Regions from separate parts of the Homo sapiens genome. Here regions 2, 3 and 4 are each linked to region 1. Evidence: promoter capture Hi-C in 16 types of primary human blood cells and fetal thymus (Javierre and others, 2016). All regions are on one chromosome and are shown on one strand. Each heading gives the region's core, a stretch centred on a gene start or on the middle of the fragment in contact. The rest is flanking DNA. Distances are from core to core; before and after follow the strand shown. Region 1 holds the start of NFRKB (nuclear factor related to kappaB binding protein). Region 2 overlaps APLP2 (amyloid beta precursor like protein 2). Region 3 overlaps APLP2 (amyloid beta precursor like protein 2). Region 4 has its middle 13 kb from the start of APLP2.

Region 1 (7,444 bases), core at 4,945-7,444:
TCTGAAGCAAAAACTGTCATCTAAATTTTTCTTGCTGATTTTTTTTAACTTCCCTATTTTAGAAAACTATTGTTGGGCTGTTGGTAGTGCTTTCCACAGATGCTGGTCCTCAGTGGATTAGGTCAGAAGCTCATGTTCTGATAGTTCTTCATTATTTCACAAAGGTGGACAACCTGAAAGAGAAAAGGCTGCTTGATGTCAGCAGAATCTAAACCCCTACATTAAAGCTTTGCCTCCCATTCTGTGGTTGTGGTGGTGGTAAGAAGGAGATATTGGTACCAAGAAAAATTTCCAAAACTATTGAGAGAGAGAGAGAGAAAGTATTGAAATTTTGTTCTGCCTTGCAGGATCCATTTATCATTCATTGGTAAAGGATATATTCCTTGTTCTTACCAAGTGTACATTTAACTCTTGCTGACATGTTCAGTGTATTTTATTACTTTTAATGCTGTCTTAAAATGAACATTCTTTAAAGTTGGACAGGAAGGTGGCATTTCTTATTTATTAACATTTTTAACTTTAAACATATTGTGACTCATCTAGACCTTTTAATAAGACGGTCAACTTCACACTTAGGGAAAAAATTAAAATGTGATGGCCACTTCTAATAATTCAGGTAGTTATAAGGGATCTGGAAGAAATCCAGTCTTTATGAATATACTATTAGTTGGGCATTAAAAAATCAGTATATATTTTAACTTTTTGTGACATGCTAACACATTTTCAGAATAATTATTGCATAGTAGAATTTATTACTCCAGAACAGAAAGACCTTACTTCATTTCAAATGAAGTTAATTAATTTACATTTCTGGGTAAAAACTGGTTCTATAAATTAAGTAGAGTAGCTTCTTTATGATAAAGACAATTTTCTGAAAAGTGAACAATTCTGTTAAAAGAACTTTATTGATGTGTAGATTTCGCACTTTATTTCTGAGACTGCGTTCATGTAGTTGTTCCCCAATGTTTGAGTACTAAGAGAACTTGAGAAAATTACTTCATAAACATATGGAAACTGAAAATGGACTCTCTTTGTGACAAAGATATTCAACAGAAAATATTGACCCTGCATTGCAAAACACAGGTTCGGGTTCCCTAAGTCCCACAGTGTAATGATTACAAATATCCTAGTGTCCGGTCTAGAAAGACTTTCTAGGAGAAGACTAGTGGAATTTTCTAAAGGTTCAGTTTTAGCTTTTATAACTTAAATTTGGCCCTGTTACGTTCTTTTTAATTTGAACCATAAGGTATCTCCCCTCCCTTCAGGAATAACTTATTGGAAAACTGAAAAGAATCACTGAATGGAATGTTCATTTTATGGCAGTTGTTTTAAGTTTTAAAATACACAGAGGAAAATATTGTGGAAGGACCTCTTTGTTGCTTTCCCTTCTAAGTTGTCTTCTTCTTCTTCTTCTTCTTCTTCTTCTTTGGTCCTTAAGTGAAATAAAGACTCTAAAACTAATTTGTATATTATCAGCCAGAGATGCGGATGGCAGTCGAGCCAAATCGCATGGCTTTCAGATCAGGTATTCTGCACATTCATTCCAAGGTCATAGATTTTTAAAAGGACCTGGATTTGAAGAGATGGCAAATGATGAGCCATCAGAAAACTTAATTTGGAAAACATGTATGTAGCCAGTGTGGATATTGTGGCCTCTCTCAAGACACATTGACACTGTAGACTTCATTCAGTCCAGTGTGAGTATTTTGGAGTAGGTTGGATGTAGATTTTGTTTTTATCATTGATTTGTACCGACAGAAATAGACATTTCATCATGTAAAATTCCTGTTATTCTGGAAAAACCTATTGTTTTGATCTTCTTGTTTTCTGACTTGGAAGTATCCTTTCAAAAAAACTCTTAAGATATCTAGGTCTAAAAAGCACTTCATGAGATGCTAAAGCTGACCCACTGGTTGAAAATGTTGACCCTATCCTGTTATTTAAATGTGAACATTTATTGTACATTCAGTGAGTTATAGTGTTAATAGTCTTGTGCTATGCAGCAGGTGTAAAAATTAATAAATATATTTTTTAATAAACATGTTTGTATGTGTGAAGCTACAAGAGCTATTTTTTTTTCTTTGAAGAATTGCAACTTTTGGTTTCCAGCGTGGCATACAGGAAGCTTGGAAGTTGTCCCTCCATCCTAGCAATAAGTAAGAAGCTGAGCAAATGGAAAGATCAACATCTCTCCTTAGATCCATCAGAAAGTTGAGCCCACAGGACAAACTGCTGTCCCCAAAATTGGAAAGACAAACAGGCAAATACAGAGAATCATAGCTTATTGAACAGAAACCCGTGAGAAAAAAATCCACGATCAATAACCTCTATGAGAACCAGCGCCAGGGTAGGAAAACTTGAACTATATTTGATGAATTGCTGCAGGCTCAGCGTGGAGAAATCTGAGAGGTTAAAAACTCCAGGGAACTCAGTCACTGGAGGGGGGGTCAAGGGAGACCCACACTTTTGTGAGTTTTATCCCCAGGAGCTTGACTAGGTTCTCACAGTGAAATTTGGAGAAAAATTCCCTCATGCTTCCAGCAGAGGAAGGGGAGAAGGAACCATTTTGAAATACTCCAGAGCTTTCTGATCTTTCTATTATAACAAGCACCGAACCTGCTGAAGTTATAGCAGAACCTCAGTCACCTGGAGGAAAGGAAATAGCCAGCCCCAGCCCATTCCAGCCATTGTCCCTCATCTAAGAGGGGATAACTGCGTAGCATTCGTGAAGTTCACAGTCCAGAGGCACAGGCTCACCAGAAGACTGAGGCCTCCTTTAGGAATACAGAATGCTTCCCCAACCCCAACACCTTACCACCACATTGCTAAAGGCCTACTTACAGAAGCTCTCTCTACCTGGCACATCATGACCAGCTATCAAGAAAAACATTACAAGGCATACTAAGAGGCAAAAGACACAAGTTTGAAGAAAGAGAGCAAACATCAGACCCAGAATTAGATATGGCCGAGATGTTGGAATTCACAGACTGGGAATTTGAAACAACTGTGATTAATATGAAAAGGGCTCTACTAGAGAAAGTAGACAACAAGCAATAACAAACAATGTAAGGAGAGAGATGGAAATCCTAAGAATGAGCTAAAATGCTAGAGATAAAAAATGAAGAGTAGGCTGGGCACGGCAGCTCATGCCTGTAAACCCAGCACTTTGGGAGGCTGAAGTGGGTGGATCATTTGAGGTCAGGAGTTCAAGACCAGCCTGGCCAACACGGTGTAACCCTGCTTCTACTAAAAATACAAAAATTAGCCAGGCGTGGTGGTGGGTGCCTGTAATCCCAGCTACTCAGGAGGCTGAAGTGGGAGAATCGCTTGAACCTGGGTGGTGGAGGTTGCAGAGAGCTGAGATTGCGCCTCTGCACTCCAGCCTGGGTCACAGTGCAAGACTCCACCTCAAAAAAAAAAAAAAAAAAAAAAAAAACATGAAGAGTAGCTGTGAGAGGCTAAATGGTAGACTAGACACATCTTAGGAAAGAATTGCTGAGCTTAAGGATATCTCAATAGAAACCTCTATAACTGAAAGACAAACAATATCCAAAAACTGTGAGATGATGAAAAAAAGGTATAACTATGCCTCATGGGAATACTAGCAGAAGACAGAGAAAGGAACAGAAGAAATATTTGAAGCAATAATGATTGATTATTTCCCCAAATCAATATGGAAGATGAAACCACAGATCCGGGAAGCTCAGAGGACACACAGGATAAATGCAAAAAAATCCTTCAAAACCAAAAAACAAATGAACAAAAAATGACTTTTCTTCAGAAACTGTGCACACAAGGAGCGAGTGGAATGAAATGTTTAAGGTGTTGAGAGAAAAAAGCAGTGTCTAACCTAGAATGCTGTAGCCCATGAAATTATCCCCCAAAAGCAAAGGGGATTTGTTGCCAGTAGACCTGCCTTGGAGAGAATGTTAAGTTTTTCAGAGAGAAGAAAAATGATAAAAGTCAGAACCTCAGATCTATATAAAGAAAGAACATCATTATTACCTTTAATAATGAAGGTAAAGGAAAAGTCTTACTTATTCTTTGTTGTTTTATTTTTCTTTTTACTTTTTTGAGACAGGGTTTCACTCTGTTGCCCAGGCTGGAGTGCAGTGGTGCAATCACAGCTCACGGCAGCTTCGATCTCCCTGGCTCAAGCGATTCTCCCACCTCAGTCTCCTGAGTAGCTGGGACTACAGGCACGTGCCACCACACCTGGCTAATTTTTTGTATTTATTTTAGTAGAGATGGGGTTTCACCATATTGCCCAGGCTGGTCTCCAATTCCTGGGCTCAAGTGATCCACCCATCTCAGCCTCTCAAAGGGGAAGATCCTGGGCATTGGGACTGAGGTGTTTTTGATACGTTCATGCAAAGATGCCTGGAGTGGGTGGTTGGATTTCTGGGTTGTTTGATTCATAATTGCTTGATTCATAATTGCCAAAACCTGGAAACAATGAAGATATCTTTCAGTAAGCGAATAGATAAAACTGTGATATATCGACACAATGGAATATTATTCAGCACTAAAAAGAAATAGGAGCTATCAAGCCATGAAAAGACATGGAGGAAACTTCAATGCCTGTTACTACGGGAAGGAAGCCAATCTGAAACGGCTACATACTATGTAATTCCAACTAGATGACACTCTGGAAAAAGGCAAAACTATGGAGACAAAAAGATCAGCGGTTGCCAGGGGTAGAGGAGAGGGAGAGATGAATATGCAGAGCACAGATGATTTTTAAGACAGTGAAATTACTCTGCATTATACTGTGATGGTGGGTAATGATGTATCAATGTAGGTTCATCAGTTCTTTTGTTTGAGATGGAGTCTCGCTCTGTCTCGCTCTGTCGACAGGCTGGAGTGCAATGGCTCAATCTCGGCTCACTGCAACCTCCGCCTCCCCGGTTCAAGCAATTCTCCTGCCTCAGCTCCCGAGTAGCTGGGACTACAGGTGCCCGCCACCACGACCGGCGAATTTTTGTATTTTTAGTAGAGACGCGGTTTCACCATGTTGGCCAGGATGGTCTCGATCTCCTGATCTCGGGATCCGCCCGCCTCGGCCTCCCAAAGTGTTGGGATTACAGGCGTGAGCCACCAGGCCGGGCCGGGTTCATCAGTTCTAAGAAATGTACCACTCTGGTAGAGGATGTTGATAAAGGGAAGGCGATGCATGTGGGGAGGTGGGGCGGGGAGTATTTGGAAAATATCTTTCTGCTCAATTTTGTTAACTTTAAACCACTTTAAAAAAACAAAGTCTATCAAAAATTATAGTTTACATTGTTTTTACTCTTTTTCTCTTTCTGGTCTTGTCACAATCTCAAGGTAAGGGAAATATCGGTGACAACTATAGAGTGATATTCCACTGCCATTTATACTCGATAGTTTCTAATTCAAGAGCCTCTCAACAGTGTAACAGGAACTTAGAGCATATGTGGAGCCAGTAGAGGAACAGAGATCGGGTTGTTTGGAAACTACTCTCTTCCAGGAAGGGAAGAACATTAGCTCGGCCGGCCGGCTTCTCTGGTCCCATCCACACACAGAACTGAGGATGGTCTCTGCGCCACTGCTGGGAGTACCTGGAATAAGTAGTGTGAAGCCGTACTAAGCAAAACCCAGTGAATAACAGGAAAGGGGCCTTCATATCTAAGAAGAGGAAAATGATGGAGTTTAACTTTAAAATGTGATCCTTCGATGTGTTTACATTCTTTCTGGACATCGAGGGCCCGGGGACGGGAAGGAGGAATGAAGGAACTCGGAAGCACAGGCTGAGGTCGCGTTCTACTCATGTCCTCAACTGTAAAATGGGCACTAATAGTGCATAGCTCACAGGGCTGCAGCACAAAGACGGTGGGTAGAAAGTGCTTAGCATAGGGCCTGGGGCAGGGTATGCTCTCTGCAAACGTCAGCTAATAGACGTGCCTTCGCTCACGGGCTATGGAACTTTGATTCGCGGTCAGGCAAAGACAGGCACTGTCTGGGGCCTCTGGAAGCTCCTAAATCAGGTGAGACGCGCAAGCAGGCTGGAACCTGCATCCCCAGGCCCAGCCGCGCGCAGGCACCCTCGCCGACCCTCCGCTCTCCCGAGCCGCTCCAGGACCCGCCCGCTGTGGCCCCGCCCCGGCACCCTCCAGGCCCCGCCCCGCGCTGCCCCGCCCCTTCCGCCGCGCAGGCCCAGAGCGTGCGCGCACCCAGACTCCTTGCGGGAGCGAGTGCGTCTGGGAGCCCGCGGCCGGAGAAGGGCTGCGGGTTAGGGGGCCGGCGCCCGCGGTTCAGGTGAGGGCGGGCAAGGGGCGGCGAAAGGGTTGAAGTGTCTCCTGGGAGTGGAGGGAGCGGGAGCGGGCGGCTGGGTCCGCGAGGTCGCTGCCCGTGTGGGCGTGGGGAGCGGGAGCGGGGCGTGGGGAGCGGTGCGACGCGTGAGGCTGGGGGTTAGGGTTAGGCACGGCGTGGGGGAGGGGCGGGGCCGAGCCGTGCAGTTCTGAGGATTGGACCCGGGCCTTGGGCCAGCCGGGCTGGCACCGGAGGGGAATTTGCTGCAGAGTTGAGGGCTTTGGAGCCGGCGGTTGCTCTGGAAGGACCCGAGGGTTTAGCTTCTGCGTTGGGGAGGGTCCAGCGGGGAAAGTTAGACCAGGTGCTGAAAGCCAGTGATGAGAGGCCGAGAGGCCTTCGTGGTCTAGTGAAGAGGTTCAGAACGCCCGAAGATCTGGAAATCCTTGGCTTCCGGGGTCCAACTCCCTGGCAGCTGCCTGGTTTTGGTATTTTGAGATTCTGTTCAGAATAGTGGCAGTGCAAAGGTTGTCAGTGGACTAGATTAACTTTAGCTAGACACGCACCGTCACTGAAGAAACTTGTGAGCAAGTTGTATAGAGACCTCCTAAGAGGCAGGTAGGACACTGACTTTGCAGTTGATAGTCTGTTCTATGCCAGTTCTGTTAAGAAGGTTTTATTCTGAGCATCAGGTTGCTTCTGCAATTTTTTTTTGGTGCTATTTTGAAGTTTTGTTAAACTCACATGCTATGTGCTGTCTCACCCGCTTCACTTATTTAGGCATAGGCATGATGAGGATGTCATTTCACCATGTGCTGAAGGGTGATGAGGGGGCACAGTTGCTTGGGGACCACCCACGTGACTTGACTCAACGCTTAAGTTTCTGCTATATCTTTACATGGATCTGAAATCTCTTCAAGGGAGCTTGAAATAATTTAGTGGAACATGCTTCATTTTACATATAGTTATTCTAGAACTGTTCTTTATCATTGGAGAATTTTGGAAAAGAAAAGTACCTGTATTACGTAATTCACACTGTCACTCATCTAGAGATTATTCATTGCAGGATTCCAGAATTGGAAATAACGGGAGGGAGGACCTGGTCCAGCTTCCCTTCCTCAAATAAGGAAATTGACACCTGGCGTGGTAAGATTTGTGGAATGTGGTGTTTGTGGAA
Region 2 (7,444 bases), core at 2,350-4,849, 210 kb before region 1:
ACTCCAAGAAGGCTAGCACAGAGGCAACAGTCATTCAGGTCTATGTGACAGAATGCATCTTTTAAAAACCTTAATTATTTACTATTTGTATCTTCACAAACAAATCCTTTTCCCAGGAGCTAGAACAGAATAAAAAGTGACTTCTGGATGTGTATGATCAAAGTGAAAGGCAAAGGAAAAAACTTTTTTATTTATTTTATTTATTATATTTTAAGTTCTAGGGAACATGTGCACAACGTGCAGGTTTGTTACACAGGTAGACATGTGCCATGTTGGTGTGCTGCACCCATTAACTTGTCATTTACATTAGGTATATCTCCTAATGCTATCCCTCCCCCCTCTCCCCACCCCACGACAGGCCCCAGTGTGTGATGTTCCCCACCCTGTGTCCAAGTGTTCTCATTGTTCAATTCCCACCTATGAGTGAGAACATGCGGTGTTTGGTCTTCTGTCCTTGCGATAGTTTGCTCAGAATGATGCTTTCCAGCTTCATCCAGGTCCCTACAAAGGACATGAACTCAACCTTTTTATGGCTGCATAGTATTCCATGGTATGTGCCATCTCCTTAATCCAGTCTATCATTGATGGACATTTGGGTTGGTTCCAAGTCTTTGCTATTGTGAATAGTGCTGCAATGAACATATGTGTGCATGTGTCTTTATAGCAGCATGATTTATAATCCATTGGGTACATACCGAGTAATGGGATGGCTGGGCCAAATGGTATTTCTAGTTCTAGATCCTTGAGGAATCACCACACTGTCTTCTACAATGGTTGAACTAGTTTAGAGTCCCACCAACAGTGTAAAAGTGTTCCTATTTCTCCACATCCTCTCCAGCACCTGTTGTTTCCTGACTTTTTAATGACTGCCATTCTAACTGGTATGAGATGGTATCTCATTGTGGTTTTGATTTGCATTTCTCTGATGGCCAGTGATGATGAGCATTTCTTCATGTGTCTGTTGGCTGCATAAATGTCTTCTTTTGAGAAGTGTCTGTTCATATCCTTAGCCCACTTGTTGATGGGGTTGATTTTTTCTTGTAAATTTGTTTAAGTTATTTGTAGATTCTGGATATTAGCCCTTTGTCAGATGGGTAGACTGTAAAAATTTTCTCCCAAGGTTGCCTGTTCACTCTGATGGTAGTTTCTTTTGCTGTGCAGAAGCTCTTTAGTTTAATTAGATCCCATTTGTCAATTTTGGCTTTGGTTGCCATTGCTTTTGGTGTTTTAGACATGAAGTCCTTGCCCATGCCTATGTCCTGAATGGTATTGCCTAGGTTTTCTTCTGGGGTTTTTATGGTTTTAAGTCTAACATTTAAGTCTTTAATCCATCTTGAATTAATTTTTGTATAAGGTGTAAGGAAGGAATCCAGTTTCAGCTTTCTACATATGGCTAGCCAGTTTTCCCAGCACCATTTATTAAATAGGGAATCCTTTCCCAATTTCTTGTTTTTGTCAGGTTTGTCAAAGATCAGATGGTTTTAGATGTGTGGTGTTATTTCTGAGGGCTCTGTTCTGTTCCATCGGTCTGTATTTCTGCTTTGGTACCAGTACCATGCTGTTTTGCTTACTGTAGCATTGAAGTATAGTTTGAAGTCAGGTAGCGTGATGCCTCCAGCTTTGTTCTTTTGGCTTAGGATTGACTTGGCAACGCGGGCTCTTTTTTGGTTCCATATGAACTTTAAAGTAGTTTTTTCCAATTCTGTGAAGAAAGTCATTGGTAGCTTGATGGGGATGGCACTGAATCTACAAATTACCTTGGGCAGTATGGCCATTTTCACAATATTGATTCTTCCTATCCATGAGCATGGAATGTTCTTCCATTTGTTTGTGTCCTCTTTTATTTCATTGAGCAGTGGTTTCTAGTTCTCCTTGAAGAGGTCCTTCACATCCCTTGTAAGTTGGATTCCCAGGTATTTTGTTCTCTTTGAAGCAATTGTGAATGGGAGTTCACTCACGATTTGGCTCTCTGTCTGTTATTGGTGTATAGGAATGCTTGTGATTTTTGCACATTGATTTTGTATCCTGAGACTTAGGCAAAGGAAAAATCTAACCCTCAATCCCCATCTGGGATACTTCTAACTTTAGAACATATAATCCAACTGCAGTCTGTCCTCGTAAAAGCTAATCTACTTTCTAATCCTTTGCACACACCAAATCATGAAAGTGGAGAATTACTAAAATTCCAATAATTTTACTTAATTTACCCACAAAAGAAAATTTTCTGAGCAACTACTATTTCGCAAAGCAACATGCTAAGTGTTTAGGATATAAGAGTGGGCAAAAAAGTCATGACCTGCTTTCTTGGGGCTCTAATGCAAGAGTTAAAACTCACAAAAAGTGTGACCACATTCCCAAATGTCTTAAGAAGGAAAAGAACACAGTGTTGAGAAAGCACATAAAAAAGGAATCTGGGCCGGGCGCGGTGGCTCACACCTGTAATCCTACCATTTTGGGAGGCCAAGGCAGGCAGATCACGAGGTCGAGAGTTCGAGACCAGCCTGTCCAACATGGCAAAACCCCGTCCCTACTAAAAATACACAAATTAGCCAGGCGTGGTGGCGGATGCCGGTAATCACAGCTACTCAGGGGGCTGAGGCAGGAAAACTGCTTGAACCCGGGAGGCAGAGGTTGCAGTGAGCCGAGATTGCACAATTGCACTCCAGCCTAGGCAAGAGAGCAAGACTCAAATCTCAAAAAAAAAAAGGAATCTGACCTAAGCTTGGGTAGGAAGCTGATCAAGGAAGCTTCCTAAAGAGAGTGACAGCTGAGTAGCGCTTTAAGCATCCCATATGGAGGCAATGTTGATTTTGAGGCAGAGAGATGGTGGGAGAGGCATGCCGGGACAAGAGTCTGCAGACCAAGAAAGGACTTCAGTCCTTACCACTGAAGTGTTGAGAGGCTTTAAGCAGAAAGTTACTATTTTCATAACAAAGCTCTGATGCTTTCTCTAGTTGCACGGTGAAGAACCGACTGAAAGGAAATGAGTGTATGCAGGGAAATCATTCAGGACACTGGAGGTGCACATTCCAAGAGAGGAATAAATGGTAGCTTGGGCTAAGGTGGAGTGGTGGATAGAGAGATTCAAGAAACCACAGAGCCTAAAATAGGCCTAGGTGTGATAACTGATATGAGGGATGAGGAAGAGGAAGGTTCAAGTTTGGCTCCCATGATTCAAAATGTGATGGCATCATTCATAAACACAGAACACTAAAGGGGATTTCATGAACAATTTTCTCTCATGTTGGGTAAAAATAATCAACTATTCCATAAGATCTGTCTTTGGCCCATATCCTTTTATGTGCAGTCTAACCATTAACAGCTCAGAAGCTATAGCTGAGAAGTAACATTACAACAGCAAGGCTCCTGCAGACATGCACGAGAAAAGCACAGGCATCGGCCGGGCGTGGGGGCTCACATCTGTAATCTCAGCACTTTGGGAGGCCAAGGCAGGCAGATCACCTGAGGTCGGGAGTTCGAGACCAGACTGACCAACATGGACAAACCCCATCTCTACTAAAAATACAAAATTAGCCGGGTGTGGTGGCACATGCCTGTAGTCCCAGCTACTCAGGAGGCTGAGGCAGGAGAACTGCCTGGACCCGGGAGGCAGATGTTGCGGTGAGCAGAGATCACACCATTGCACTCCAGCCTGGGCAACAAGAGCGAAACTCCATCTCAAAAAAAAAAAAAAAAAAAGCAGACAGAAAGACAGGGAGAGAGAGAGAGAAAGAGAGAGACAAGCACAGGCATCTCTCTAAAAACATCCATTACTCGTGGTTATAGCCATAAGAGTCCCCAACTGCAAAACTTTCTTCAAAATTAAAATAAATAAACAAATAACAGTTCTTAAGTTAAAACTTGTAGAGGAGGAGGGTTAGATTATATGGTCTACCATGTTGTTCTTTTCAAAAACAGCATATACATGACATGGTTTTCCTACTAACAAGAAAGGGTAGCTTTGATGCCCCCACCCTTTTTTTTTTGAGACAGGGTCTTGCTCTGTCACCCACGTGGAGTGCAATGGGGCAATCTCAGCTCATTACAGTCTCGACCCCCTGGGCTCAAGCCATCCTCCAGCCTTAATCTCCTGAGTAGCAGGGACCACAGGCATGCGCCATCACACCCAGTATACACGTATTTATATTTTGGTAGAGATGGGGTCTCATTGTGTTGCCCACGCTGGTCTCAAACTCTTGGGCTCAAGTGATCCTTCTGCCTTGACCTCCCAAAGGACTGGGATCCTAAGCATGAGATACTACGCCTAGCTGACTTTTAAAATATGTGGAAAATGTATGATTTTCTAGGAAACTTTAATTTATTTATGCTGATGAACTACACAGACATGAACAATCCTTCTAATCAGTAACTTAAATTTGATTGTGAAATATATTATGGTCTTTTTCCAGGACCAATTTACCATCTGACATATGTTTTGCTTCGAAGCTTATTAAAATGAACCTGCTTTCTACTAGTATAAGAGAAGGAAGCACCAACCCTTGTTGGACAGCTGGGAGAAAGCTAATTTGGAATTAAAATGTTGCCAATATCTATCAGGGCTGAAAAACACCTCAGTTAAACCCAACAAACAATTAGCACCTTTATTAACTAGAATTGACTTTACCCTGCTGGAACGAATATTCATTTATTAAAGTAGAAGGCCCTATGCCTTCAGTATGAATGCACGTGAAGCTACAGACTAATATGAGTTCCTGCTTCCCCCAAAGAAGGAAAAAACACCTAAAGATATGTGTAGGAAGGAACACACACCTATTCATAGGTAATACTCTAGTGGTGCTTAATTCAAACAAATCATTAAAAGGTATAAAGGATGCACAAGACAGATGTGCTTAATCTTCACACTTAGTTCAAGATGCATACCAAGCCCGGCACGGTGGCTCACACCTGTAATCCCAGCACTTTGGGAGGCTGAGGCAGGTGGATATCTGAGGTCAGGAGCTCGAGACCAGCCTGGCCAACATGGTGAAACCCTGTCTCTACTAAAAATACAAAAATTAGCCAGGCATGGGGGCGCGTGCCTATGGTCCTAGCTACTTGGGAGGCTGAGACACTAGAATCGCTTGAACCCAGGAGGCAGAGGTTGCAGTGAAGCCGAGATTGCGCCACTGCACTCCAGACTGGGCAACAGAGACAGAGAATCTGTCTCAAAAAAAAAAAAAAAAAAAAAAAAAAAGATGTGTACCAAAAGTCCTGTTCTTTTGTAATCTAAGGATTATGGCTAGAAACTTGGATTGTGTGTCGAGAAAAATGGGGATATCCAAAGATAAAGGTAAGGAAACCCCAGGGATATTTTCGTGTACTGAAACCAGTGCTCTCCCCCGAATCCTTTGCTTCCCACTTCGAAAGTTCAGATAGAATTAAATGAAGAAAATCCAAGAAGACATGATAAATACGTATATGAAAAGCCCAATCTACAGGTCGGAAGGAATGTGCTTCCTAAACCTGCTACGAATGAACTCCTATAGTTAAGTCTGAAAGCTTCTGAGCAGTGTTTCCTAGATTCCCTCTGGCCTTCTATATTTTTACATTAAAGACAGCTACTAAACAAATCAGATTTCAGGTGGTATTTAATCTGTCAGCAGTTCAGCCTGCAGAAGGAGAAACCATTTACCCCTTAAATTCCAAAAGTGAATATAGCTAAGAAACAGTAATTAGTTACATGAGGTCACCCAAGCCACAGCGTGGAATGGTCAATTTCATCGTAAAAAGCCATTTATCAGCACCAAAGATTATGTTCCACATGTTACTCATTATGGTTGTTGGCTAAAAGACCGCAAGAGTTCCAACTGTATAAATGTTCAGTTTATGGGTCAACCACTAAGGTCAACACATCAGCGCTAAGTGCATTTCGGCTCTGTGCTGAGATGGTCAGTACTATCTTCCCTAAAGAGAATCTTAAAATACCAGAGGTTAAAGCAACAGGAAGAGGCAGCTAAGCACCAACAGATCCTCACATCAGTTACCACCAAGAAAAAGCAGAGAAACTGGAATCAATCCAGACAGCTAATATGCTGTAGTGATTCACTTTTGAGTTCAGAAAGATTAATCCTTGTGGTCTTAAGAGACTCTCAAGAAGGTATCATCGGAAATATAAAAAGCCTCTGTGGACCATGTTTTAGGAGTCAACTAATCAAACATACCCCAACCCTACCTAGGGTGTAAAAGGCTAATTTTTTCTGTAATGTTTGTACTTCTACCTTGAAAATGCCCTTATTTAATGTGCTGTCCATTTCCTTAAGCACAGACTGTGCCTTGATCCATTACATCAACATATAAATCAATCTGTTTCCTAATCTAACATGTTACAAATGGGATTTTGCTGCCAAGTCAGCACTTCTGATATCCTGTAAACCTGGAATCCTCTACCAAAAAAATTAATGCCCCATGTGTTGGCACTGAAGCCAGTCCTTGTGATCTATGCATACTGCAGCACTTTTAAGGCTTGGAAAACAAATTGCATCAACTGCTTCCCTAGCCCAGCACTTCCATTTTGCTTAATAATTCATTCTTAATAAGAAATTCCATTTTATTAATTTGGCTTGGGGAACAGTTTAGCAATCCAAGGACAGAAATTCAACTTGGTAAAAAGTGCTTCTAGTAACTTGGTCGAAAACCTGAAATGGCTTAAGGAAATAAATATGTAAATCTAAATAAATCTAAGTCTCAACCTACTTTAAATCAGGGCCTTTAATCACCTCAAGTGATGCAACTCCTGGGCTCATCTAAGCCTACCTCCCTTCACAAAGCCCTCAGGACCAGGCAGTCCTCTCACTCCAAAGCAAACGTGCACACCCAGTTATCTCTGCCCTCATTGAAGCTACTATTCCAGGATCAAATCTGGCTGCAGGGCTTCTGAAGGTGCCTGCCATAGAGGGAGCATCTTCCCATGAACATGGTTTGATCCCACTAGTGGAAGAATCAGGTCTCTTTGAAAGGAATCCGGCTTTATGAGACACACGAGTATTCAAGTTTCACCCTGCGAAGGCAATGTAACACAGTTCTAGTTCTAATAAACGCGGAATGAAGCAGGCCTTCGAGGCATCTAGTTACCACTAGCAAACTACTGATAGCGAAAGGTACGACGCTCTTGTTCAAAAACCTTTTTTAAGGAAAAGTCAGTAAAAAAGGACCATCTGTTAAAAGATACGAAAATCCTATATATTATTTTCATTCATATTTGTTCAAGCGCTGAAGTACTTCAAGGTTCACAAATTAGAACAAATTTATGTTCATGAACCTTCACCAAAGATTTACTAAACTGAACGAAGTGAAAAAAAAAAATTCTGTTCTCAGTATCCTTTCAAGGTATCTCCCCAAAGATATTAGCTACAAAAGGGAAAACAATTACTTGAGAGCAGAGACACACATCAGACACCTACATTAATCTCATCCACAATGAGACATTTGAGGGTGCTGATCAGGA
Region 3 (7,444 bases), core at 1,650-4,149, 190 kb before region 1:
CGTCCGGGAGGGAGGTGGGGGGGTCAGCCCCCCGCCCGGCCAGCCGCCCCGTGCGGGAGGGAGGTGGGGGGGGTCAGCCCCCCTGCCCGGCCAGCCGCCCCGTCCGGGAGGTGAGGGGCGCCTCTGCCCGGCCGCCCCTACTGGGAAGTGAGGAGCCCCTCTGCCCGGCCAGCCGCCCCGTCCGGGAGGGAGGTGGGGGGGTCAGCCCCCCGCCCGGCCAGCCGCCCCGTCCGGGAGGGAGGTGGGGGTGTCGGCCCCCCGCCCGGCCAGCCGCCCCGTCCGGGAGGGAGGTGGGGGGGTCGGCCCCCCGCCCGGCCAGCCGCCCCGTCCGGGAGGGAGGTGGGGGTGTCGGCCCCCCGCCCGGCCAGCCGCCCCGTCCGGGAGGGAGATGGGGGGGGTCAGCCCCCCCGCCCGGCCAACCGCCCCGTCCGGGAGGTGAGGGGCGCCTCTGCCCGGCCGCCCCTACTGGGAGGTGAGGAGCCCCTCTGCCCGGCCACCACCCCGTCTGGGAGGTGTGCCCAACGGCTCATTGAGAGCGGGCCAGGATGACAATGGCGGCTTTGTGGAGTGGAGGGGCAGGAAAGGTGGGGAAGGGATTGAGAAATCGGATGGTTGCCGTGTCTGTGTAGAAAGAAGTAGACATGGGAGACTTTTCATTTTGTTCTGCACTAAGAAAAATTCCTCTGCCTTGGGATCCTGTTGATCTGTGACCTTACCCCCAACCCTGTGCTCCCTGAAACATGTGCTGTGTCCACTCAGGGTTAAATGGATTAAGGGCGGTGCAAAATGTGCTTTGTTAAACAGATGCTTGAAGGCAGCATGCTCGTTAAGAGTCATCACCAATCCCTAATCTCAAGTAATCAGGGACACAAACACTGCGGAAGGCCGCAGGGTCCTCTGCCTAGGAAAACCAGAGACCTTTGTTCACTTGTTTATCTGCTGACCTTCCCTCCACTATTGTCCCATGACCCTGCCAAATCCCCCTCTGTGAGAAACACCCAAGAATTATCAATAAAAAAATAAATTTAAAAAAAAAAAAAAAAAAAAAGACAGAGCTAGAACTAGAATACTCCACCAGCATCTTTTGACGCGCAACAATTCAACAGCTACTATGAATATACTGGAAAACTAGAGATGGGAAAGTATTCCCAAGATCATAAGCTTTTATTTGTCATAAACATAACTTTGAAGAAAATAAAATTCTGACCCTTTATTCAAAGATCATTTCACTTGATTACTTTACAGTTATGTCAGTCAACACACTAGCCACTGGGTCTTATAGGTTGAATAGGGCCTCAAATTTCATTTACTGAAATCCTAGCCCCAAATACCTCTGAATGTGACCTTATTTGGAAATATGGTCACTGCTGATGTAAGTGGGAGGAGGTCATACTGGAGCAGGGTGGGCCCTTAATCCAATATGACTGGTGTCCTTCTGAGAAGGCGAAATGTGAACAGACAGACATGCATGCACACAGAGGGAGCGCCACGTGAAGATGGAGTTACGCTGCCAAAAGCCAAGAGCGAGGCCTGGAACAGGCCCTTTGTTAGTGCCTTCAGAAGGAGTCCAGTCCTGCTAACACCTTGAACTGGGACTTCTAGCCTCCAGAAAACCAGAAAAGTGAAACAATAAATTTCTGTTGCTTAAGTCACTCCATTTGTGGCATCTTTGTTACAGCAGCTCTAGCAAACAAACACACTGGGTAAACAAGACTCAACATGTGTATTTAGGGAGCATATATACTCTGAGACAGGATCCAGATGTAGAGAAACAGGATTACAATGTAAGGTGCACGCTGTGAATGTGAGGTGAGGACATGGAGACAGTGAGCATGCTGCAACTGAGAAGAGCTGTAACAGAGGCATGCACGGACTTGGCACAGGAGAGCGACAGCTACGGAGGATGAGGGGCTGAGCCTTCAGAACTCTTCTCCAAGGAAAGTGTGCTTGGGCTCCCTTCCAGCGTGTGCATGACCCTGCTATGCATACTTTGGAAGGTAGGAGGGTGTGATCAGGAAAGATGAAGTATAGAAAGGAGACCAGTTAGGAAGCCACTGCATTCATCCAGGCAAAAGATGATGAACAAAGGCAGGAGCAGTGTGAATAGGAAAGTGACAGATGAGAAATACTTGGACAGGGGACATGAAGGAAGGATTGGAATGAGTCCAGCTTTCTAATTCTGACAACTGGGAGAATGGCAAGGCTAACAGCCAAAGAAATTGGACGGGTGGTAGGGAGGGGGCTGAGGATTGGAGACTGATAAACTTCAGTTTTGAGTGGCATCATACTGGAAGGACTCACAGCTTACCAAGTGCCGCGTTTTTTGTCCACCAGACAAAAATAGAGGATGGGCATTCCAGAGGGTAACGTGAGCTGGAAGTAAGGATTTTCTATTCATTACCAGGCTGGAAGAATTTTAAGCCTAGAGATTAGGCAGAACCACCTGGGGGAGACTGTGCAATGTGAAAAAAAGAAGGCCGTCCCTATTTTCTACAGGTATATTATTAATATTATAAGTTGGGAGTCTATTTCTGAACAAATATCAAAAGAAAAAAAAGGACACAAATTATGACTGAGATACTTAAGTTTTTAACAACATTTTATTTTATTTTTCATATTATTTTAAATGTTGTTAAAAACTTAAGTATCTCGGTCATTCTGGAGTGTTTTCTTCATGGACTAGACTGCCTGAGGTCTCAAAATTTAAAGTTAGTGAAGCAGAGAGAGAAGATGACATTTGCTTTTCCTGGAAAACTTCTCTGGAGCAAGCATGAGTATCTGGTGTTGCTTGCTCTACAAACCTTCTTATTTCCTTCCAGTTTATATGCCTAGATGATTCGCATTGCTAATTCATTGTACATGAAGTCCTCAATCATGTCAAGAATGAAGTCAGAGATTTTCCCAAAGATAGACTCTTCAGAGGTCTGTTACTCCCGATTTCAGTTAACTTATTGGAAAACTCTGTTTCCTTACCAGTGCTTGCAGCCTTCCCTGAACAATGATTTTCTTAAAATTTTATGGTTTTTTCCCCCCTGGAACAATCAAACCATCCTTTCCTTGTCCTAAAATTCCTTCCTTTGATGACTTACAGATATCACCCAGACCAAGTTTAACCAATTATGCTGAGTGAATGGGGTAATTTTGGGGCCATCTGAATTCAAGTTACAATAATATGCCTCATGCATCCACATTTTGTGACAAGTTCAGCATCTTCACTGACTACACATACACAGGGAAAACTACATGTAAAAACTGTTTGGCTGGGAGCTTATCAGGCTTGAGTCTGTGCTCTGTATTTAATCTTTTAAAAGCAATACTTAAAATATTTTAATCTGATTTTAATCTGTCCTGAATACTATTCCTATTGTTTAAAAACAACACTAACCAACATTGAGTTTCAATGACTTTTATCAATTCACAAGATTAATCTTGCAAAACAATAGCCCAGCAGGATTTTTTTTAATGTAGATCCTGAGGAAGCTAATCAAGCCGCAAATAATCATTCTTCTAATAGGAAGTGGCTAGACGGAAAAACATTCTACAGTATTACACAGAAAGCCTCTTCAGAAGAGGATAAGGGGCAGGGTGGAGTCCAACCAATCGCAGGGCCATTCTGCTATGAAATGTGGTTTTTGGTTCACTTGAAACCTGCCATGGTGTTAAATATTTACTACAAAAGATCATTTCAAACCAATGTTCTCTTTTCCTCGTTTTCAACAAAGGTTGAAAACTCAACTGCCTCTACATCACAGACAGGGAATGGGGAGCTAGAGGGTAAGACCAAAATGGAGACCCATACTCAGCCCCCTCGAAGAGACCACAGGCTCTCTTCACCAACTGAAGCGGGGCTGCCACTACTTAGCCCCTGCTGCCAGATGTTCTAATTTCTTTAAAACCAGAGCGGAATTTTTATATTAAAACCCATGATCTTTGGAAATGAATATATTTACTTTGAATTTAAGACACAAGGAAGGTCAAATGGTAACAGCCAAATAAAACACAAGGACAGGTCACATTCTGCCTGCAGACTGCAGGTCTTCAACCTCAACTTTAGGTTACGTACTAGGTATCACAGTGAGGACGCTGATGACAGTTACTCTAAAAGAATAAAATTCACCAAACACCTTACACTCAAAAGCCATAGTGTAAACTAAAAGTAATTGTATTCTGTTAATTACTAATTTACAATAATTAACTTTAAAGCTCTATGGCATTTGAGGGTTAGAAGACAATACTGTTATGACAAGACTACCTAAAACAATCTACAGATTCAATGCAATACTTAATAGCCCAACAGGGTTTTGTTTTGTTTTTTCACAGAAACAGAAAAATCCATCTTAAAATTCATATGAAATCACACAATCTTGAGACGGAAGACTCATACTTCCTGATTTCAAAACTTACTACGAAGCTACAGTAATCAAACAGTGTGATATTGGCATAAAGACAGACATTTGGAATAGAGAGCCCAGAAATAAATCCTCACATGTTTGGTCAATTGATCTGCCAGGACAATTGAATGGGGATGCAACAAATGTTGCAGAGACTGGATAGCAACTTGCAGAAGAGTGAAGCTGGACCCTTACCTTAAACCATATACAAAACTGAACTCAAAATGGATCAAAGACCTAAGCTTAAGAGCTAAGACTATAAAACTCTTAGCTTAGAAGAAGACTTAGGAGAAAAGCTTCATAACATTATATTTCACAACGATTTCTTAAAAATGACACCAAAACTACAGGCAACAAAAGAAAAAAATAGATAAACTGGAATTCATCAAAGTTAAACTTTTGTGCATCAAAGGACACTATTGAGAGTGAAAACACAAACTGCAGAATGACAGAAAATATCTACAAATCACATATCTAATTAACATCCAGAATATATAAAGAACTCCAACAATTCAACAATAGCAACAAAACAATCTAATTCGAAAATGGGCCAAAGACTTCAACGGACATTTTTCCAAAGATATAAAAATGGTCAACATGAAAAGATACTCAACATCACTAGCTATTAGAGAAATGCAAATCAAAACAATAAGACACCGCTCCACGCCCATTAGGATAGCTATTATTTGAAAAAGGAAAGTAACTGTTGGCAAGGATGTGGAGAAATTGGAACCTTTGTCCACTGTCAGTGGGACTGGAGAACAGTAAAGTCACTGTGGAAAACAGTTTGGCAATTTCTCAAAAATTTAAGCACAGAATTACTATATGATCCAGCAGTTTCACTTCTTAGTAAATATCCGAAAGAACTGAAAGCAGGGACTCCCATATCTACATGTACGCCAATTTTCATAGCAGCATTGTTTACAGTAGCCAAAGGTAGAAACATCCCAAGTGCCCATTAACAGATGAATGAACAAAATGTGGTATATATGCACAATGGAATATTACTCAGTCTCGAAAAGGAATGGAATTCTGATGCACAAGCCTTGAAAATATACTAAATACACCAAACTCAAAAGGACATATTTTATGATTTCACTTACTTGAGCCCCAGAATAGGCAAATTCATAGATCACCAGGGGCTGGGGGATCCAGGGGAATAGAAAGTTAGTGTCTAATGGGTACAGGGTTTCTGTTTGGATGAAAAAGTACTGGAAATGGACAGCGGGGATGGTTGCACAATGTTGTGGATGTCCTTAATGCCACCGAATTGTACACTTAAAAACAGTTAAAATGAAAATGTTCCCTCTTCAATATTTTGGAAGACTATGAGAAGGATTAGTGTTAATTCTTCCTTAATGTTTAGTAGAATTCTCCAGTGAAGTCATCTGGTCCTGAGCTTTCCTTAGTTCGAAGTTTTTTTTGTTTTGTTTTGTTTTTTGGTTTTTTTTTTGAGATGGAGTCTCGCTCTGTTGCCCAGACTGGAGTTCACTGGCACAATCTCAGCTCACTGCAACCTCTGCCTCCCAGGTTCAAGCAATTCTCCTGCCTCAGCCTCCGGAGTAGCTGGGATTACACACACCTACCACCATGCTTGGCTAATTTTTTTGTATTTTTAGTAGAGACGGCGTTTCGCCATGTTGGCCAAGCTGGTCTCAAACTCCTGACCTCAGGTGATCAACCCACCTCGGCCTCCCAAAGTGCTGGGATTACAGGCATAAGCCACCGCACTCAGCCTGTTGGGAGGTTTTTGATTACTGACTCAATCTTCTTATTTGTTACTGATCTGCTCAAGTTTTCTATTTCTTCATGATTCAGTCTTGGTAGTTTGCACGTTTTTAGAAATTTACCCATTTCTTCTAGGTTATCCAATTTTTTGGCATACAACTGCTCATAATAGTCTCACGATACTTTTTATTTTCATGGTATCAATTGTAATGTCTCCTCTTTCATATCTGATTTTGTGTCTTCTGTTTTTCTTAGTCTAGCCAAGGGTTTGTCAATTTTGCTTATCTTTTCAAAAACCCAACTCTTTCTTTGATTTTTTTCTATTGTTTTTTTCTATTCTGTTTTCATTTATTCTGTTGCAAATTATTTTCCTCCTTCTGCTCACTTTGGGATTAGCTTATTCTTTTTCTAGTTTGAGGTGTACAATTAGGCTGTTTGAGATCTTTCTTATTTTTTTAATGTAGGCATTTACTGCTATAAACTTCCCTCTCAGTGGTGCTTTTGCTGCATCCCAAGGGTTTTGGTATGTTGTGTTTTCATTCGTTCAAAACATCATCTAATTTCCCATTTGATTTCTTCTTTGGCTCAATGGTTAAGACTGCTGTTTACCAAGGGTGTGTTTAATTTCCACCCATGAAGCCAGCATTACCCTAATAACAAAATAGGATTAAGACACTACAAAAAAAAGAACACTATAAGCCAATATCCCTGATAATCACAGACGCAAAGGATGTCAACAAAATACTAGCAAACTGAATCAGACAACACATTAATAAGATCATACACCTGGATCAAGTGGGATTTATCCCTGGGATGCAAGAATGGTTTAACACATACAAACCAAAAAATGTGGCATATCACATTAACAGAATGAAGGACAAAAATAATATGATACCCTCAAAAGATGCAGAAAAAGCATTTTTTTTTTTTTGAGACGGAGTCTCGCTCTATCGCCCAGGCTGGAGTGCAGTGGTGCAATCTCGGCTCACTGCAAGCTCCACCTCCCAGGTTCACGCCATTCTCCTGCCTCAGCCTCCCGAGTAGCTGGGACTACAGGCACCCGCCACCACGCCTGGCTAATTTTTTGTATTTTTAGTAGAGACAGGGTTTCACCGTGTTAGCCAGGATGGTCTCGATCCCCTGACCTCGTGATCCGCCTGCCTCGGCCTCCCAAAGTGCTGGGATTACAGGCGTGAGGCACCGCGCCCGGCCGAGAAATCGGAACTCCTGTATGCCGCTGGTGAAAAAATGGTGCAGCCACTATAGAAAATAGTATGAAGGTTCTTAAAAAATTAAAAGTAGAATTATCATATGATCTATCAATC
Region 4 (7,444 bases), core at 2,577-5,076, 160 kb before region 1:
AGGCATCTGTGTGGGTATTAACATGGAAGTAGCATGATGCCATATAAGAATGACGAGAGAGAAGAGGATTCCTAAGGGACAATGATTTTGTCCTTTAACTTGACAGCTATGGGATATCATCAGCTTTTTAGCAGGCATCTTAGAAAGACTAAGTGGAATAATGGATAAAATGCTTACATGTTTAGCTCAGCATACAGCATATAATAAGGGCTTGGTACAGGACAGTAGGTAGTTCTGGTTGGTTATTTATGGTTGCAGTGCAAGTTTAGGGAAAGAGAAGCTCATATTTGTATGACGCTTTTGAATTTTCAAATTTGTTTTGTGTCCATCATTTCCTTTCATATTTAAAAGAACCATGTAAAACTCACTTATTTCATTTCTAGGAATCCATCCTAGGAAAATAATCCAAATGAGAATAAATTATGGAAAAATGCTTATAAGATGTGTTAAAATTTCAGAAGTCATAGTAGGAATTGCATATGTGGAAAAATTTCTCTTATGCATTTAAAGTCGACTGAAAGAAAATGAACCAACATATTTTTTTCTGGATAATAGGATTATAAGTGATTGTTTTATTCTTTAAAAAATATTCCTATAATGGATATATGTTACGTTTATAACGGAGGGAGTAATCTTTCACTTTTCTTTTGTCTTTCTTGATCTTATCAACAATAACTTAGCCTGGGCAGCAAAGCAAGACCCGTCTCTACTAAAAATAAAAATAACAGCCAGGCACAGTGGTGCACACTCGTAGTCTCAGCTATTTGGGAGGCTGAGGTGGGAGGATCCCTTGAGTCTAGGAGTTCAAGGCTGCAGTGGCACGATGATGCCTGGGTGACAGACAAGAATCTGTCACAACAATAAATAAATAAATAAACAAATAAAACCTTGTTGCCGGGTGCAGTGGCTCACACCTGTAATCCCAGCATTTTGGGAGGCCGAGGCAGGTGGATTGCCTGAGGTCAGGAGTTCGAGACAGGTCTGGCCAACATGGTGAAACCCTGTCCCTACTAAAAATACAAAAAAAATTAGCCAGGCGTGGTGGTGTACACCTGTAATCCTAGCTACTTGGGCAGCTGAGGCAGGGGAATTGCTTGAACCAGGGAGGTGGAGGTTGCAGTGAGCTGTGATCACGCCACTGCACTCCAGCCTGGATGACAGAGTGAGACTCCATCTCAGAAAAAAAAAAAAAAAAAGACAGGGCAGTCATTATTGTCTTCATTTTGTAACAGTAACACTTTTATCGATGACAGTAACTATAACTCTCATTAGCACTCACTACATGCCACGCATTGTCCTAAGCGCCTTAGCAGATATTAACTCATTTAGAATGAATTAATGAGAATTATAGGGAGCACTTGTCTCATCAGGATGTTTTTGGCTGTAAATAATAGAAATGTCTACTCAACCTGATCGAAAGAAAAATAGTGTTTATTGACCCACACAACTGGAAAAGCCTAAAGGGGCAGGGATCAGGCATGGTTTCCGTCAGGACCTCAGCTCACGGCTCTGTGATGCTCTTGCTCCTCCTGGGAAAGCTTCACCTGCAGGCTGATGGCAGATCATTCACAATAGTTGCAGGTCTCATCCTACATCTGCACAGGAAATTATCCAGAAGAAAAAACAGCTTCTCGCCCAGCCTTCCCAACAGGAGTCCTGACATTCTCTGATTGAACAGGGTCACATACTCACCCCTGAGTCAGTAACTAGGGAACGGAGGTAAGAAGACGGGGCGCAAACAAAATGCGCTGGATGCCTTCAGCCAACTGGGACCTCCCAAGGAATTGAGGGTGGGAGGAGTGTGGGAGGGGTGGATAACAAAATCAAATAGGAAGGGGGAGTTGGGGAAAGGGTGTCAAGTGGGCAGTAGACAGTGTTAATGACTATAGTTCCCAACACTCAGTTTAGTTTAGATCTTACTGCCAGGCTAGCCACAAGTTACTCTTTCCCCCTGCTTCCTAAATGTCCTTCCCAGCATCCTTATTTTTTGCTTCTCTGTGTTATTCTGTGCATTATTGAATATATGTTTATTAAGTAGCATTTATGAAACCCGTCAGATTTAAATTACCTTGAAATTTGAAATTAAATTTGAAAATCTTTGAGTTGAAGGTAAGATGCAGATCAAACTAATATATCATATTGTTTTTTCATTTTTATTGATGGTGTTCGTTTAATTAAGAAATATAAGAAGGGCCAGATGTGGTGGCTCACACCTGTAATCCCAGCACTTTGGGAGGCTGAGGCTGGAGGATCACTTGAGCCCAGGAAGGCTGTAACATAGTGAGACCCTGATTCTACAAAAAAAAAAAAAAAAAAAAAAAAATCAGCCAGGCATAGTGGTGTGCACCTGTGGTTCTAACTACCTGGGAGACTGAAACATTGATCCCAGGAGGTGGAGGCTGCAGTGAGCCCAGATCACACCACTGCACTCTAGTCTTGGTGACAGAGTGAGGCCCCATCTTTAAAAAAAAAAAAAAAAGAAAAAGAAATGCCAGAGAGTGAGCCCAGCTTACTTCTCAGGCAAAGCTTCATAAGGTAAAAGAGGTTTGGGGAGACCCCAAGGTCTATTCCTGGTTTGTTGTTTGTTTTGTTTTGTTTTTCATATAACAGCTTTATTAACATATACTATACTTTATTGATACATACACACCATATGATTCACCCATTTAAGGTGTACAATTCAATGGTTTTTAGTGTATTCACAGACTTATGCAACCATCACCACAATAAATTTGAGAACATTTTCTTCACACCAAAAGAAGTATTGTGCCCATTAGGAACCATTCCCCATTTCCCTCCAACGCTCCCTCCCCGAGCCTTAGGCAACCACAGATCTTACTCTCTGTATCTACAGATTTGCCTTTTCCAGACATTTCATATAAACAGAATCAAGAAGTATGCGGTCTTTGTGACTAGCTTATTTCACTAAGCGTAATGTTTTCAAGATTTAACCACGTTGTACAATGTATCACTATTTTATTCCTTTTTATCGACAAATATTAATAGTATTCCTTTTGTTAACATATGGCTAGACCACATTTCTCTCTTTTTCTCTAAGATGGGGTCTTGCTCTGTCACCTAGGCTGGAGTGCAGTGGCGCCATCATAGCTCATTGCAATCTCCTGAGCTCAAACGACCCTCCTGCCTCCGACTACCAAGTAGCTGGGACTACAGGCATGCGCCACTAAACCCAGCTATGCCCACGCTGGTCTCAAACTCTTGGCCTCAAACAATCTTCCCACCTCAGCCTCCCAAAGTGCTAGGATTACTGGCATGAGTCACTGTGCCCAGCCTAGACCACACTTAATTTGTCTGTTCAGCAGCTGATGGACATTTGAGTTGTTTCCACTTTTTGGCTCTTAAGAATAATGCTTCTGGCTGGGCATTATGGAATAATGCTCCAGCCTGGGAGACAACGTGAGACTTTGTCTCAAAAAAAAAAAAAAAAAAAAGAGATGGGTTTTCGCCATGTTGGCAAGGCTGGTCTCAAACTCCTGGCCTCTCTGAGGCTTAATGAGACTAAATAATTTGTTTCACATTACGTAGCAACTAGGTGGAAATAACAGCATTTGAACCCAGGTCTTCCTCCTTTCAGAACTGGCTGTCTAACGTACTAGACTAGACACATGCTGCTTAAACATTACCACATATTTTACGTCCATTTGTTGGAAATGACTGTTTCCCCCATTTTCACCACTACTTCTGCAGATGATTACTTGAAAAAAGTATACGGTAGGCCAGTCATGGTGGCTCACGTCTGTAATCCCAGCATTTTGGGAAGCCGAGGCTGGAGGACTGCTTGAGCCCAGGAGTTTAAGACCAGCCTGGGCCACATCTCTACAAAAAATTAAAAAAAGAATTAGCTGGGTGTAATGGTGCATGCCTGTGGTTCCAGCTACATGGGAGGCTGAGGTGGGAGGATCACTTGAGTCCCGGAGGTCAAGGCTGTAGTGAGCTATGATTGCACCACTGCACTCCAGCCTGGGCAACAGAGCAAGACCCTGTCTCAAAATAATTAAAATAAAATAAAAATAAAAAATTTTAAAAGTATATGCAAATTCTCAGTAGCTTTACTTTCAAAGAGTGACTTGGTATCCACATTCTGGAGACCCTTTCATGTGGCTCTCTCTATCCCGACTTCTTATGAGAAGTTGTTCATGATCACATTTCTGGCACAACTCCTTAAAAGCACAGTCAGCAGCATTCAAAGCGGCTCCTGGATGCCTGCCCTACAGGGACTTTTGATGATGTCTGTACTATTTTGAGATAAAAAGAGTTCTGCATCCAGCAGTCCAGAAACATTCATCCCAACATCAGCTTTTAAGTCCCTTGTTACATTTACATGATGGAGGCTGCCGATGACTTGAGTTGTTTCCAGATCCAGTGTAGCAAGTGGTATTTCACTCCTTTTTGAGATGAGCTGCAGATGAGGCAAGGCGCTGATCACTACGTGGTGACTAACACCACCATCACGCCTTCAGATACTGCTAATTTTGGAATGGCCAGATTTGCTTCAGATCTTTTCAGAAAACCAGAGTCATTGTCACCTGTACTTGCTGGTAGTCTCACACTAAATTACATGGTCATGGTAAAATATTATGGAATTTACATTCATCTTGAGAATCATCTAACAATGATGTTAGATGTAATTATATGATAAAATATTCTTTTTTTCCCTTTGAGATGCATACTAAAAAGTATTTAGGAATGAAACTAAAGAGTAAGATATTGCTCCTAAACAGACTATGAGAGGCAGACACAATTGAATATTTAATACAAGCACCAATTCAAAAATGCATGCCTATTCCTCGAATCACTGAGATTTCACTCTATGTGCAACCTTTCAGAGCTAACAGAAATTATTTACACTGAAGTGCACAGAGAACAGCAAAGATAAACTATACAGCACATGTGTCAAGAAGTGACATATTAGGTGAGGATAAGTGATACTTGAATATCACAAGATCAAGCTAACATCACCAAATAAAAAGATTGTAACAGTTTCAAGTCATAAAGACTGATGTATGGAGCAATAACCCATCCTTGCAAGGAGAAGTTATTCTTGCAGTAGTTGTTTTTAATCTTGCTCTTGGCTGCTGCCCTAGATAAATTAAGATTGAAGCTTTCAGGACGTATGAGGTTGAATTTACAGTGACAAAATGTGCAGGGCTTGCAGACCCAAGGATTGCTGCCCTCAAGAACAAGTAAAGGATGGGTCGCCATCTGATTCTTTATCTATATGACAATTTGCTTAGTTCTTTATAAATTTTGATGGGCGGGTTCAGTTGTGATTTCTGTTGTTTTCTATACTCGCTATGTTATGTGTCAATTCTAATTTAAATTCAGTGTCTGATGAAAACAAAACAAAACAAAAAATCAGCTCTCCACCATTCATCTACTTTATGTGTTATCCAAGATCTCTGCCTTGGTTTCTCAAATGGCTCACCCTCCTTTTTTACCATTCCCTTGAGGAAATACAAGGACATATTTTATTTATTTATTTACTTATTTATTGAGATGGAGTCTCATTCTGTTGCCCAGGCTGGAGTGCAGTGGCGCCATCTCGGTTCACTGCGACCTCTGCCTCCCGGGTTCAAGTGATTCTCCTGCCTCAGCCTCCTGAGTAGCTGGGAATACAGGCGCACACCATCATGCCCAGCTAATTTTTGTATCTTTAGTAGAGATGGGGTTTCACCATGTTGGTCAGGCTGGTCTCGAACTCCTGACCTCATGATCCACCCACCTCGGCCTCCCAAAGTGCTGGGATTACAGGCGTGAGCCACCGCGCCCGGCCCCAAGGACATATTTTTTTAAAGTCCCTTTTACCCCTGCTTGGGCAATTCCAGCGAAAGGGGTTTGGAAGTGAAGAAAGAAAAGAAAGGACAGCTAAGACCTAGAGAAAATTGTGGTCATACAATTTCAGTAATTAAAATGAACTTTGGAAGCTGTTTGCGGCTTTTTATTATTTATGCTTCACCTCTTATCAAAAACAAACCCAGTGTAATTGGCTTGTATATGCTCAGTAAATACCTCAAAATCCTACAGTTAGTAGTAATTTCTTTCTGCTACTAAGTCACTTTGAATCATTGAGCATTAATCAACAGTAAATTATACTGGGAATTCTCAAGCAATTGAGAATTGCTGACCCTTCAATGCTGACAGGCTAGTTACCAAACTCCAGGGCCAAAAATACTCTGTATTTGTATGGTGACTATATTTTCCAAAGCTAAAATTGAGACATATGATCTGATAATGAGATGAAATATTTGAACTCAGAACGTTTTGCCACCATACACACTTGACAGTTAAAAGAATATTTTGGCCAGACATGGTGGCTCACACCTGTAATCCCAGCACTTTGGGAGGCTGAGGCAGGCAGATCATTTGAGGCCAGGAGTTACAGACCAGCCTGGCCAACATGGCGAAACCCCATTTCCAACAAAAATATGAAAAAATTAGCTGGGTGTGGTGGTGCACACCTGTAATCCCATCTACTCAGGAGGCTGAGGCAGGAGAATCACCTGAACCCAGGAGACAGAAGCTGCGATCACACTACTGCACTCTAGCCTGGTCTACACTCTGTCTTGGGGAAAAAATATATATATTTTGCCATTCTACTCCCTATTCATAATTGCTTTCATTGTTGCATATTGGGCAGCCCTGGTCTTAATCAAACCCTTCTGATATGGTTTGAATGTCCCCTCCAAAACTCATTACCAGTATACCAGTATTGGAAGGTGAGGTCTTTAAGAGGTGATTTGGCCAAGCCCTTATGAATGGATTAATGCTGTTCTTGGGGAGTGGGTTAGTATCTCAGGAGTTGCTTCCTGACAAAGGACGAGTTCAGTCCCCTTTTTCTCTGTGTCTCACACGCCTGCTTGCTCTCTTGCCTTCTGTCATGGAAAGCCCTTTGCCCAGTGCTGGCACCATGCTCTAGGACTTCCCAGCCTCCAGAATCAGAAGCCAAATAAGCTTATTTTTTAAAAAATAAAGTACCCAGTCTGTAGTATTCTACTATAGCTACAGAAAATGGACTAAGATGCATTGCATTCATTAAGATGGGAACCAAAACAAAGAACACACATATTAAAGAGAAAAAAAGTCTAAAATGAAATAGCAGTAAAGTAACTGGAAATCATGGTGCTCAGATGTTTAATATTCAGCAATGTTAGATCATTATTTTTAATAAACTTATTTTTTGCAACAGTCATTAGGCCATTTTTAAAAAGGGTTTACAATTCTGGCAGATCTGATGTGTAAGAACAAAAAGATAGAAAAGCAATCCTGCTGTATTTAGCACTGGGCGGATTATTCTGTATTTAGCACTGGGCAGAGTATTGTGTACAAATTTGGTTTCTCTAATTAAAGAAAGATGTGCACAACTTGGGAACTGTCCCGAAAATTCAACCAAAACATTCAGAGGCTAGGAAGTAATCCATATGGA

What was found. Contacts are between HindIII fragments. The CHiCAGO score rates a contact against its expected background, and 5 or more counts as called.
Region 2: a contact is called between a fragment that was not itself captured here and the fragment with the promoter of NFRKB in region 1, in 13 of 17 cell types (total CD8 T cells, M2 macrophages, non-activated CD4 T cells and 10 more). The highest score is 7.4, in total CD8 T cells.
Region 3: a contact is called between a fragment that was not itself captured here and the fragment with the promoter of NFRKB in region 1, in 8 of 17 cell types (non-activated CD4 T cells, naive CD4 T cells, total B cells and 5 more). The highest score is 6.0, in non-activated CD4 T cells.
Region 4: a contact is called between a fragment that was not itself captured here and the fragment with the promoter of NFRKB in region 1, in 1 of 17 cell types (total CD4 T cells). The highest score is 5.0, in total CD4 T cells.

What each region holds. Positions count from the first base shown.
Region 1 is chr11:129,894,328-129,901,771 of GRCh38, reverse strand. It overlaps NFRKB (nuclear factor related to kappaB binding protein), which reads left to right and starts at 6,194. Exons shown (of 27, transcript NM_001143835.2): 1 at 6,194-6,276; 2 at 7,334-7,413. PRDM10 (PR/SET domain 10) reads left to right here. Exons shown (of 21, transcript NM_199437.2): 21 at 1-2,061. RefSeq lists a silencer at 6,038-6,477. The HindIII fragment of the contact is 7,376 bases long and covers 2,128-7,444 here.
Region 2 is chr11:130,101,957-130,109,400 of GRCh38, reverse strand. The region is part of intron 1 of APLP2 (amyloid beta precursor like protein 2); the gene reads right to left. Among named protein-coding and RNA genes, the nearest start is that of APLP2, 36 kb to the right of the region's middle. RefSeq lists a silencer at 3,020-3,220. The HindIII fragment of the contact is 1,699 bases long and covers 2,750-4,448 here.
Region 3 is chr11:130,083,852-130,091,295 of GRCh38, reverse strand. All of the region lies in intron 1 of APLP2 (amyloid beta precursor like protein 2), which reads right to left. Among named protein-coding and RNA genes, the nearest start is that of APLP2, 18 kb to the right of the region's middle. The HindIII fragment of the contact is 3,472 bases long and covers 1,164-4,635 here.
Region 4 is chr11:130,052,711-130,060,154 of GRCh38, reverse strand. No RefSeq gene overlaps it. Among named protein-coding and RNA genes, the nearest start is that of APLP2, 13 kb to the left of the region's middle. The HindIII fragment of the contact is 2,596 bases long and covers 2,529-5,124 here.